2 separate regions of the Homo sapiens genome follow, and region 1 is linked to region 2. Evidence: promoter capture Hi-C in 16 types of primary human blood cells and fetal thymus (Javierre and others, 2016). All regions are on one chromosome and are shown on one strand. The core of a region is centred on a gene start or on the middle of the fragment in contact, and the rest is flanking DNA. Distances in the headings are between cores, read along the strand shown.

What was found. Contacts are between HindIII fragments. The CHiCAGO score rates a contact against its expected background, and 5 or more counts as called.
Region 1: the fragment with the promoter of CDKN2AIP here is called in contact with the fragment with the promoter of SPATA4 in region 2 in 1 of 17 cell types (total CD4 T cells); the score reaches 6.6 in total CD4 T cells.

What each region holds. Positions count from the first base shown.
Region 1 is chr4:183,440,735-183,447,099 of GRCh38, forward strand. CDKN2AIP (CDKN2A interacting protein) reads left to right here and starts at 3,902. Exons shown (of 3, transcript NM_017632.4): 1 at 3,902-4,335; 2 at 4,801-4,931; 3 at 5,354-6,365. The coding sequence starts at 4,064. RefSeq lists a silencer at 3,377-3,926 and an enhancer at 4,207-4,356. The HindIII fragment of the contact is 3,011 bases long and covers 2,626-5,636 here.
Region 2 is chr4:176,193,554-176,199,780 of GRCh38, forward strand. It overlaps SPATA4 (spermatogenesis associated 4), which reads right to left and starts at 2,032. Exons shown (of 6, transcript NM_144644.4): 1 at 1,792-2,032; 2 at 1-29. The coding sequence starts at 2,009. The HindIII fragment of the contact is 1,203 bases long and covers 1,522-2,724 here.

The DNA of each region.
Region 1 (6,365 bases), core at 2,652-5,151, 7.2 Mb after region 2:
CACCATCAGATGGCCTCCATGTCAACGTCTCAGCTCCAAACTTACAAACGTCTTCTTTTAAAACAGAGGAAGTGTCTGCCCACCTAAGGTTAATCTCTCCACCTGTGTGTGGATCCCAGCCACACCTATGTCTGCAGAAATTGCTAATTACCCTCTTTTTCTTCAGATCCTCAAACTCTCCTTTTCTGTGAGTTGCCTTCAAGCAGTGGGCAACATGCTCAGGCTACTCCCATCTGAAATTGAAGCCACCTTGACCCCATGACCCTGTCCAGCTTCCTCTATCTTCTCCCCTTTACAGCCAAATATCTCCATTTCCGACTCCTGAACTCACTCTGATATGGAGTCTTCATCACTGCAGTAAAAACGGCTTTTGCCAAGCTCACAGGTGGCTCCAGTCCGTAATCAGACTGTTACTACCTATCTTCATCCTACTTGATTTCTCAAAGCTTCTAACAGAGGGGATCACTCTTAAAACATTCTCTTACTTTTTCAGAACATCCCACCTTATCACTGTAATTTGGCAGATTTGTGTCCTCACACATCATTAGCATAAAATATTTCCCCTCACCATGAAGTATTTCTCACATCAAGTCATAACCTTGGCCATAACTGGAGTATTTGCTCCTCACAAGCCTCTCCACATGCAGACCTTCCTGCCAAAGGCTTTCTTGCTTCCACAGTCACATCCAGGAACAGGGGCAATCCCTTCATGTTGCTCCATGGGAAAGCCATCTGCAGAAAAGCCAGCTTGCCGCTGGAATTTTTATTGGATGTCTTCAGAGAGATATGCTACAGAACCAGTTTCAGTGAATGGGCTTCCACTTACAGCAGAAAATTTAATCCTGTGAACTCAGTCACTTGTTTGAAACTCAATTTGGGATGATAGTGGATCTTTCTCAATTCATTAGAATTCTCTCCCTTTTCTCCTCTGAGTAGATTTCTAGTGAGGGCAGTGGTGGGGTGAGGCTTGGTTATCATCCTAGCATTGTCTTGTGCTTTCTTCCCTGTGGGCTCTGCTGGGAGTATAACTGCTTGATCTACCAGCACAAGCAATGCACACTGATCATTTCAGGAGAGGTTGAGGGTCCTCTCCTATTGATGCGGCCTGACGGGCACTGGTCTGATGACTTGCTGAAAACTAGCTGCATCTCCCTTTGCTGACAAGCTGACCACCCCTAGCCTCATTCACCTTGGACCCTGGTGCTTGGTAGGCACTTCACCATTCAACTCTTTCTTGGGAACCTTTTGGATCTCCTCTAGGCCCTGTGAGATATATGTGCGTAAATGCGTGTGTGTGTGTTATGTATATATACACACACACATATGTATATATATATACACACGTGTGTTAGGAGCAGAGGAGGGAGTTGTATAGTTGGTTATCAAAGCTATAAAAGGCCCTTTCTATGTTCATTTCTAAAGGCCAACGCATACAGGCTCAGGGCACGATTGGGCTGTCTTCTCTCAGAAACTCGGGCAGAGCCAAGTCCTTCTGCTCTTAGACCCAAAATCTACCTAGCAATTTCTAACAGCCAACACTTCCCACCCTGCATCTTATTCCCTACTCCCATAGACTTTCCTAGTTATCACCTAAATTCTCCTCTCACCTTTTCTCTCAGAACGTCTCCCCCAGCTTAGAGAGGAATTTGTCTCTGTAGGTGGGAGGGTCTTTAAAAAAAAATGAGGCCGGGCACAGCGACTCATGCCTATAATCCCAGCACTTTGAGAGGCCGAGGCAGAAGAATTGCTTGATATTAGGAGTTCAAAACCAGCCTGGACAACAGTGAAACCTTGTTTCTACAAAAAAATAAAAAATTAGCCTGTCGTCGTGGTACCCGCCTGCAGTCCCAGCTACTTGTGGTTCATAGTCTTTGAATCTTTATATGCAAAGTCAACTTTTTAAGAATCAAAAAAGAAAAATGCATGTATCTTTTATTCCAAGCACCTGGTTTTTGCACAAGTACTCCATCTTTCAGACTCTATCGCTTTTATTATAATTAAAAAAATTGTTTGAAATTCAGGCTCTACTTGTTCTCCTTTCAAGGCAATGAAGCCCATGAGTGGGAAGAAGACTACAGGGCAACAAGAAAAAAAGTGAGAACATTATTATTATTATTTTTTGAGATGAAGTCTCACTCTGTCACCCAGGCTGGAGTGCAATGGCTTGGTCTCGGCTCACTGCAACCTCTGCCTCCTGAGTTCAAGCGATTCTCCCGCCTCGGCCTACAGAGTAGCTGGGACTACAGGCACGTGCCACCACACTTGGCTAACTTTTGTATTTTTAGTAGAGATGGGGTTTCACTACATTGGCCAGGCTGGTCTCGAACTCCTGACCTCATGATTCGTCCGCCTCGGCCTCCCAAGGTGCTGGGATTACAGGCGTGAGCCACTGCACCTGGCCGTGAGAACATTCTTGATTTAAAATGCACATATATAATCTAGGTATGCGATCATAGCTTCTTTTACTTGCCATGGTCCCCTTGCCAAAGAATTCATGAAAGGAGAAATCGTAATTTCTCCACCTTTTAAATAGCCAGATTTCTGCAATCCGTCCACCCCCTCTAGATTTTCAGCAATTATCTGTGAAAAGGAGGAAAGAACAGCAAACTAGAAGCAAAATCACAAAGCTTCAAAATTTCTTTGTGCCTCCGTTTTTATGTAGTTTCTTTTGGTATGGCAGGAAAATGGGCAATATTGTTTTCATACAATAGCTGTATTTTGTTCCAGCATGCACATAAATTACACAGTTAACCTTATCTGATCTTACCTAAAGTGACCTTTTTTTGCTTGCTTATTCTGATTCATGCATTTTTACATCAAAGTCTACATTTATTGAAAGAAAAATTTCATAATTTATATCATTTAACGTATTTATCTTACAGTGCATGTATACCTGGAATGGGAAACGTAACAATAAGCCAGCCAGCAGTTAGAGTACGTAACTGTGGGAAATGTAAAGTGGAAAAAAATATATAGAAGGAAAAAACAGCTCTAACAGGGAGAGAGGTTTGGGGCCCTATAGATAAATAGGTACATTTCCACTCCACCTCCGGACATCTGCCGGTTGGTGGTAAAGCTGTTGATTTTAGGAAATTCTAGAGACAGAGCGTTGTCGGGGTGTTGTTTTCCTACTGACCAGAACAGGAAGGCAATGCCTGGATTAACTAGAGACCTAATAAACTGCGGGAACAAGCCCTACCGCTGCGGGGCCAGGGCCAGCTTCGAAGGCTGCAAGCCTCACGGCAACACGGAGCCAGGTCCTCGTGTGACCTTACTGTCTACTGCTGCTATGTAAGGGGACTGGCACTCCCGCCCTCCTGAAGGCGCGGAGACCCCGACGGCCTCGGAACGCTTCGCTCGGGCACACTGAAAGCAGCGCGAGACGCAGCTCCCAACACTCTAACATGGAGGCCGGCTTTTGTTTGTTTTGGCCCCGCTCACACACAGGCGTCTCAGGGCGGAGACCACAGGCCCCGCGGCTGCGGGCGGCTCAAGGTCCCCCGGGACGCCCCCCTAGCGGACTTTGGCCGCCGCGCCCGGCTGCCTCCCTTGCCCGGGCCCTGCCCCTCTCGCCTCTGCTCCCGGCGCCGCAGCTGACCCGGCGGGGGAGGAGGACGGCAGGAGCGCGCGGCGTCACAAAGCGAGGACAGAACGCCCGGGGTTCCGCCGAGACTCGGTCGTCCCAGGCCAGCTCGACTTGCAGTCCGCCCTCGTGGGGCGGGAGACGCCCGACGCCCGCCCACCTCACCCCCGGGGTGCCCTCCGTGGCCTCACGGGGACGCAGCGTCGCAGCGGCCCCGGCGCCGCAAAGCGTCTTGGGAGCGCCGGCTCGCGCCGGAAGAACGCGAGGGCGCGCGGCGGCGGCGAGGTTATAAAAGGGAAGAAGCCGGCGGTGGGCGGAAGTGGGCGGTTCGGCGGCTCTGGGCGCTGTTGTTTGGTCTTTAGGCCTGCGGAGGGGCGTTATCTGGAGGGCCGCGGGTGCAGGCCGCAGTGACAGGGCCGCTCGCCCCGCTAGTCCTGCCTGTCTCCCGGTGCAGCTGTGTTCGCGGCCTGCAGGCCCAACATGGCGCAGGAGGTGTCGGAGTACCTGAGCCAGAACCCGCGGGTGGCAGCCTGGGTGGAGGCGCTGCGCTGCGACGGCGAGACTGACAAACACTGGCGCCACCGCCGGGATTTTTTGCTTCGCAACGCCGGGGACCTGGCCCCCGCTGGCGGCGCTGCCTCCGCTAGCACGGATGAAGCTGCCGACGCCGAGAGCGGGACCCGAAACCGGCAGCTGCAGCAGCTCATCTCCTTTTCCATGGCCTGGGCGAACCACGTCTTCCTCGGGTGCCGGTGAGTGAGGCAGCGTCCCTAACCAGCACGCCTCGTTTTGTGTGCCACCTGCAGACCGGGGCCCGGCGCCCTCCGCGGGACCGGCCTCGGCGGGGAGGGGAAGTTGTGAAGCGCGGGAATCCGCCGGCCCGGCTGCCCTCTAAGGGGGAGAAGGGCGTCCCTGCGAGGAGCCGACATGATTCCCGGACGTCTGTGTGCCCGGTGGTGTGGGCGCAGCTGCTGGTAGGGTTGCTTGTGTTAGGGAACAACGCTCTTGGGGACGGGTGCGAGATTTAAGATTAGTGAGGAGGTGCCCTGCCTCCCAGACCCTGGGGCACTTGTTTATGGGGTTCCAGGAAACAGTTCTTGGCGGTTGGTTCACTTTCTTGATTGCAGCCAGGAAATGCAGTCCCTGTGGCCTGTTTTTTGCACAAGTAGGACCTTAGAAAAAACACTTTTTAAAAATGACTTTTCCTTCTTTTTCAGATACCCTCAAAAAGTTATGGATAAAATACTTAGTATGGCTGAAGGCATCAAAGTGACAGATGCTCCAACCTATACAACAAGAGATGAACTGGTTGCCAAGGTGAAGAAAAGAGGGATATCGAGTAGCAATGGTTAGCAGATCATAGATGTGAACATACATAGGAGTTTAGAGCATAAGTTTGATATAATTAGGAATTATTGTTACTAATTTTTTTAACAAGCCAGAATTTTTATGTTATTAATAAGTAATAAAGTTGGAATGTTAAACCTAAAGTATATATCTGTGTCTTTAGGCTTTGAATTTGATAGTTTGCTTTGACTGCTTTAGATTTTGAAGTGTCCACTGTTGTCTGATGCTGTTATTTTTTTAATATTAGACATTCATGATGTTATTCAACACTGTTTTAAGAAATTAATGACTCCACACTTTTTAAAGAAACGATTAGTCTTGAAATGTTTTCACTTTGTGCCTTTATTTTAATGTGTATTTGTCTCATCACCCGTTTTGTACGAGGTATTCTTAGTCACATATCTATGTTTTTCTTCTTTTTAGAAGGGGTAGAAGAGCCATCCAAAAAACGAGTTATAGAAGGAAAAAACAGTTCTGCAGTTGAGCAAGATCACGCAAAAACCTCTGCCAAGACAGAACGTGCATCAGCTCAGCAGGAAAACAGTTCAACGTGTATAGGGTCGGCCATCAAATCAGAGAGTGGGAACTCAGCTCGGAGCTCTGGCATCTCCAGTCAGAATAGCTCTACAAGTGATGGAGATCGATCTGTTTCCAGCCAAAGCAGCAGCAGCGTTTCCTCTCAGGTAACAACGGCAGGATCTGGGAAAGCTTCTGAAGCAGAAGCTCCAGATAAACACGGTTCTGCATCATTTGTTTCCTTGCTGAAATCCAGTGTGAATAGTCACATGACCCAATCCACTGATTCTAGACAACAAAGTGGATCACCTAAAAAGAGTGCTTTGGAAGGCTCTTCAGCCTCAGCTTCTCAAAGCAGCTCAGAGATCGAGGTGCCCTTGTTGGGCTCCTCAGGAAGCTCAGAGGTAGAATTGCCACTATTGTCTTCCAAACCTAGTTCAGAGACAGCTTCAAGTGGGTTAACTTCCAAAACTAGTTCAGAGGCAAGTGTTTCATCATCAGTTGCTAAAAACAGTTCCTCATCAGGCACATCCTTACTGACTCCCAAGAGCAGCTCTTCAACAAATACATCGCTGCTAACTTCCAAGAGCACTTCCCAGGTAGCTGCATCACTACTAGCTTCCAAGAGCAGCTCCCAGACCAGTGGATCTCTGGTTTCCAAAAGCACTTCCTTAGCAAGTGTGTCCCAGTTGGCTTCTAAGAGTAGTTCTCAGACTAGCACCTCACAGTTGCCTTCTAAAAGTACTTCACAGTCAAGTGAGAGTTCTGTCAAATTCTCTTGCAAGTTAACCAATGAAGATGTGAAACAGAAGCAACCTTTTTTCAATAGACTATATAAAACGGTGGCATGGAAGTTGGTAGCTGTTGGTGGCTTTAGTCCCAATGTGAATCATGGAGAGCTCCTAAATGCAGCTATTGA
Region 2 (6,227 bases), core at 782-3,281:
CTGCAATTAGGAAGCCATTTGAAAAATCTCTGATCCGTGGCAATTAGGAAATGAAATAAAGTGTAGTTAATTATGCAGTTTGTATTATTTTATAATTAATACTAGTCTAATATTCCATACTAAAAGTATCTTGTAAAGTGAGTGTTGTTGGATCGTTGCTCTAAGGAGAACCTACTGTGGAATTTTGCTAAGATTATCTACGTTTCAAAGGCTTTGGTGTTCTTTTGATGAACCCAAACTGTTAATTTGTATTGAATCCGCATTTCAAGAAGATCCCCAGGTGATTCATATGCACTTTAAAATTTCAGAGGCATGGTTGTAAGTAATACTGAAGACAAATTAGTAAACTAGTCCCCCGCTTATCTGCAGTTTTGCTTTCTGCAGTTTCAGTTACCTTGGGTCAATCACAGTCGGAAAATATTAAATGGAAAATTCAAGAAATAATTTGTAACTTTTAAATTGTACTCTGTTCTGGGCAGTCTGATGAAACCTCCCTGCCTGCTCTGTGTTGCCTAGGATGTGAGTCCTCCCTTTGTCCAGAGTCTCCACGTTGTAGACATCAGTCACCTTTTAGTCATCAGATCAACTGTACAGTGTGGTGCGCTTGTGTGCAAAGTGCAAGAGCAGTGATGCTGGTGATTCAGATATGCCAGAGAGAAACCATAAAATTATTCCTTTAGGTGAAAAGATGAAAGTTCTTGACTTAATAGAAAGTTGTAAGAATGGTTACAATGGTAGGAATGAATCATATTCCTGAAATATGAAGAAAAAGAAATTCTTGATAGTTTCGGCATCACACCTCAAACTGAAAAACTTTCAGCCACAGTGTGTGATAAGTGCTTAGTTAAGATTTTTAAAAAGGCATTAAATTTGTGGATGGAAGACATAAACAGAAATGTGTTCTGACAGAGGGTTCTGTAGTATCCACAGTTGCCATCCACTGGGGATCTTGGAACCTATGCCTCTCTGATAAGGAGAGACTACTTTAAACCAGAGTTCTGCAAAAGATTCATTGCCTTTTTATAGAATTTAGTTTGCATTCCCAGAGCAAATATTAGCTGCCAGTTACATACAAAGTGCCTACAATTAAGCAGCAACTTTAAAAACTTGTTGGTAACTCTCAAACTAGATGCCATCTCCGACAAAGGGTAAACTGATCCTTACCAGTATTTTTTTTTTTTTTTTTTTTTTTTTTTTTTGAGACAGAGTCTTACCCTGCCACCTAGGCTGGAGTGCAGCGGCATAATCTCGACTCACAGCAACCTCCGCCTCCCGGGTTCAAGCATTCTCCTGCCTGCAGCCTCCCCAGTAGCTGGGATTACAGGCACCCGCCACCACACTGGGCTAATTTTTTGTATTTTTTAGTAGAGACGGGGTTTCACCGTGTTGGTCAGGCTGTTACTCAACTCCTGACCTCAGGTGATCCGCCTGCCTCGGCTCCCAAAATGCTGGGATTACAGGCATGAGCAACTGTGCCCGGCCGTCCTTACCAGTATTAATGCCCAATATCACTAAAGAAAAAGCTTTGACTATTTTAATATTTTTGTAGTCACCAAAGCATTCTATATTGTCCACAATTTAATGATTGGTTGATTAATTGAATAAACAAGATGTATCGTGGTATTTTGTTAAAGCCTTGTTCCCTAATAGTGTTTTCGTGTGTGTACGTGGGTGGGGGGGTCTTGATTTGAAACATAAGCCAGGCCAGGGTAGGCAATCTGAGGCCTGGCAGGCGGCGGAAAGCAGGCGGGGCGCCCACCGGGGGGGCCTAGGACTGGCTTACTCAAGCACCTGTTGATGTTCCTGGGGAAGAAGCTGAGATCCAGACCCTGAAGCCAACGCAGAACGGAACGAGACAAGCGGGAGCTCTTCGGCGCATGCGGATAGACCAGACACTTCTTAGGCCTCCCTCGGATGGGAGCTGCTAGCTGTGGCGAAAGTGACGGTGACTTGTCTAGGGCTGCCGCAGTCTGTGTCAAATACCCTTTTTCCTGGCCGGCGGCAGCCATGACGCTTTCTGGGTTGCTGCGGCAACAGCAGAAGGCGGGGCTGGGCCTTATTGCTGGCGGCGCGGTCTCGTGGGGCGGGGCGGAGTCTTATGGGGCGAGACCTCAGCGCCTGCGCAAGCGCCGCAGCAGCCGCCCGTACTTCCGCTTTACTCAGATTTTGGACCGCGGGGCCGGGTATCGAGGGAGGCAAAGCTGGGGTCCCAGTGGTGTGGCTGCGGTCTGGGGAGCGCTTTCAGTCTCAGATTTAGTTGGCCTCACTGTTAACCTATTTAGAGCTTTTTTTTTCTTATGTCATCGTTCATAAGTTTTGTATTTTAAATATTGTTGGTTTCTGCCCAGCCAAAGGCCTATTTTCAGTCGTCTAGTTTGAGGAGTGGTGTGAGAAGACTCCAGAGGCCAAGGACAGTTTTTGTTTGGGAATTGGAAGAGATGGGGGAAAAAAATCTTTGAAATGGAAATGAATGTCCACAAAATTTAACATAACTATTTCCTTAATTATTGCATTAAGTATTTGTAAACATTAATATTTGAAAACGATGTGTAGGTTAGATTTTCACACTTAATTAAAATCTCCTAGTAGGCATAATTCCTTCATTAATTCAACAAATATGTATTGAGTCCATATTATGTGCCACGCATTCATCTAGTCACTTGGGATCTATCTGAACACAATGAAAACAACTGCAAAGTTGGCATAGGCAATTATAAATATGTAAGCTTAATTATTAAAATCCATTAAAAATTTTTACAGCCACAGTTTTTTGTTTTTTGTTTTTTGTTTTTTGTTTTTTTTTGCTTGGCAGGGCACAGTGGGTCATGCCTGTAATCCCAGCACTTTGGGTGGTGGAGGCGGGAGGATCGTTTGAGCTCAGGAGTTCAAGACCAGCCTGGGCAACACAAGGTGGAGAGACTTTCGCTACAAAACAAACAAACAAACAAAATAGCTGGGTGTGGTGGTGCACACCTGTACTCTCAAGTACTCCAGATGCTGAGGTGGGAGGATTGCTTGAGCTCAGGAACTTGAGGCTGCAGAGAGCCAGGTGACAGGCCCTGTGGATACATACACATGGTAAAATATGGGATAGATCTTGATAATGATACTATGTAATATTTTTAATGTTTATTCATATACATGCTTATTAATAAAGTAAACCAGTGTATTCTGTATGTGGTTAAAAAAGAAAACCAAAACTGAAGCTATGTAAGTGTTTTCTGTTAGGCTAAAAAAGTTTTAATGAATGATTCATTCATTCTGTAAACCTTTTCTGAGGAACTATCCTGGAGTATGTGCTAGATCTTTACCATCCAATATGGTAGCCACTAGCCACATGTGGCTATTTAAACTTAAATTTAAATAAACTCAGTTCCACTGGCTACATTTTACCTGCTCAATAGCCATATGTAGCTAGTGGCTGCCATGTTGGGTAGGACAGACACAGCACTGTTCCATCACTACAGGAATTTCGATTGGACAGCTCTGTGCGGCAGATCATTTATAAGAGATTCAGAGATAGAAATATCAGTGAAAAGATTACATACACTGAAAAGCTCTGCCATGGTAAAAATATGTTAGCACCAGAAAGGAAGCAAATACTTTGGCCTGGGAGAGTGTAAGAAGTCCTCTCAAAAGAGATGACCATTAATTTGGATCTTAGAAGGTGGTATTTTAAGCTGATTTTTAAGATGAAAGCTTTGAATAGCCATTTCTACTGTGAAAGGAAATTAAATCTTGGGACCCCCCCCACCTCCCCCAAATCACTAAGCTAAAGGGAAAAGTCAAAGTGGGAACTGCTTAGGGCAAACCTGCCTCCTATTCTATTCAAAGTCACCGCTTAGCTCACTGAGCTAAATGCATACCTGATTGCCTACTCTGGAAAGGCTCATCAGAAACTCAACAGAATGCAACCATTTGTCTCCCATCTACCTATGACCTGGAAGCCCCCTCCCTGCTTGAGTTGTCCTGCCTTTGCTTCTAGTTGTCCCACCTTTTCCAGACCAAATCAATGTTCATCTTCCACATGTCGACTGAAGTCTCATGTCTCCCTAAAATGTATAAAACCAAACTGCCCTGACCACCTTGGGCACATGTCAGGACCTCCTAAGGCTGTGTCACGGGTGCTCATCCTCAACCTTGGCAAAATAAACTTTCTAAATTAACTGAGACCTGTCTCAGAGTTTCTGGGTTCACACTACCTTTTATTAGCTATATGACTTTGGGCAAGTTATTTAACATTTGTATTTGTAAAATATGGAAATAAATAGGATACACCACAGAGCTGTAGAGATTAAATAAGTGAAATCTATAAAGAGCCTAAAACAATGTGCAGCACGTAGTGCTCAGTAAGCATAGATGATTGCTTCAAAGGTGATCTTGGAAATTTATTTGGATGATGAAGGGGCAATCTCACACAGAGTGACTAATGGGAGCAATTGCATAGAAATATGAGGGGTTTTTTAAATGAGTTTTAGGAAAGAACAGAACCCATTAGGGTTAGAGAAAGTGTTTAGGCATTATCAACCAAAGAGACATTGTCAACCAAAGGTTTAGATGATAATGGCTAGAGAGGTAGGTTAGATCTATAGGTTAGGGTTTATTTGTTTTTGTTTTTGAGACAGAGTCATGCTGTTGCGCAGGCTGGAGTGCGGTGGCGTGCTCAGGGCTCACTGCAGCCTTGACCTCCTGGACTCAAGTGAACCTCCCACCCCAGCCTCTCATCTCAGCCTCCCAAGTAGCTGGGACTACAGGTGCAAACCACAATGATTGGTCAGTTTTTAAATTTTTTATAAAGACGGGTCTTGAACTTGTGGGCTTGAGGAATCAATCCTCCAGCCTTGGCCTTCCAAAGTGCAGCAATTACAGGCATGAGCCACCACGCCCAGCTAGATTGGGGCTTAATTGTAAACAGTTTTGCTAAAGAGTTGGAAATCTTCCTGTAATCAGTGTGCCAATTGTTAAGCAAATACATCCCTGTTAGAAACACTCCCTTCTCTGTTCTCAGTTCTGTGATGCCGGAGTTGGAACGCTGCGGCATTTTCTCCTTTGCTGGGTGGATGGTAAATTCTGCCAATATGGGGAGTGAGAGAGTGGCCAGGAGGTGGGGAGCAGGGATTTGCTATTTCTCTGCTTGCTGTTCAAGCCCCTGTGTAACCATGGCAACAAAGCTTCACCTGGCCGGGGCAATTGGTTCCAGTCTCCAGTATGGTTGGTTGGTTGGTTTGTTTGTTTAGCACTCCTGGTGCAAGTTTCATCATATTCTCTCCGAGGTTTTAGCAACCACCAAGAAGTGGCCCTCCTTGGAAGTCTGAGACCCAATTTTACTCTCGGACAGCTCATGTGAGCTCCTGAAGTATTAGCACCAGCTGTGTACGCCCCATCCTCAAGTCTAAGTCTTGAGGCTCTTAAGCCTCCAACTCTTACGTTCTTATAACTTCAACTTCTTCCCTGGGGGTGGTAATTGCTTCCTGAAGTGTCTAGCTCTGTGTTAATTTGATGGTCCCATTTTAGTTTTTCGGTTCTTCAACACCACCAGTTCCTTATAAAGCCGATGCAGGTTTGAACCACAGGATTTGGAACTGCACGGGCCCACTAATATGTGGATTTTCTTCCACCTCTGCCAACCCCAAGACAGCAGGACCAATCCCTCCTCTTCCTCCGTCTCCTCAGCCTACTCAGTGTGAAGACAAGGATGAAGACCTTTCTGACGATCCACTTCCACTTAATGAATAGTTAATATATTTTCGCTTCTTTATGATTTTCTTAATAACATTTTCTTTTCTCTAGCTTACTTTATTGTAAGAATACAGTACATAATATATATCACACAAAATATGTGTTAATTGATGTTTATGTTATTGGTAAGACTTCCAACAGTAGGCTATTAATAGTTATGTCTTTGGGGAGTCTACAGTTGGGTTTTCTACCATGCAGGACGTCGGTCCCCCTAATCTTAATGTTGTTCAAGGATCAGCTGTTAAAATTCTTGCTGTTGAATACCTGGAATTAGTTCTGTTTTCCTGATTGGATGCTGAATGACATATTGCTTGGTACCTGGAGTGAGGTTTTTCTCTACCACTAGCTCACCTGCATCTTTCTAAAGTATCTAAGGAACTTGCTTCTTCCTGTTCATGAGGTCGACTCAGCAGGATATCATCAATATAGTGGACTAGTGTGATGTTCTATGACATGTTAAGACACTCAAAAATCTCTGCCAATCTTGT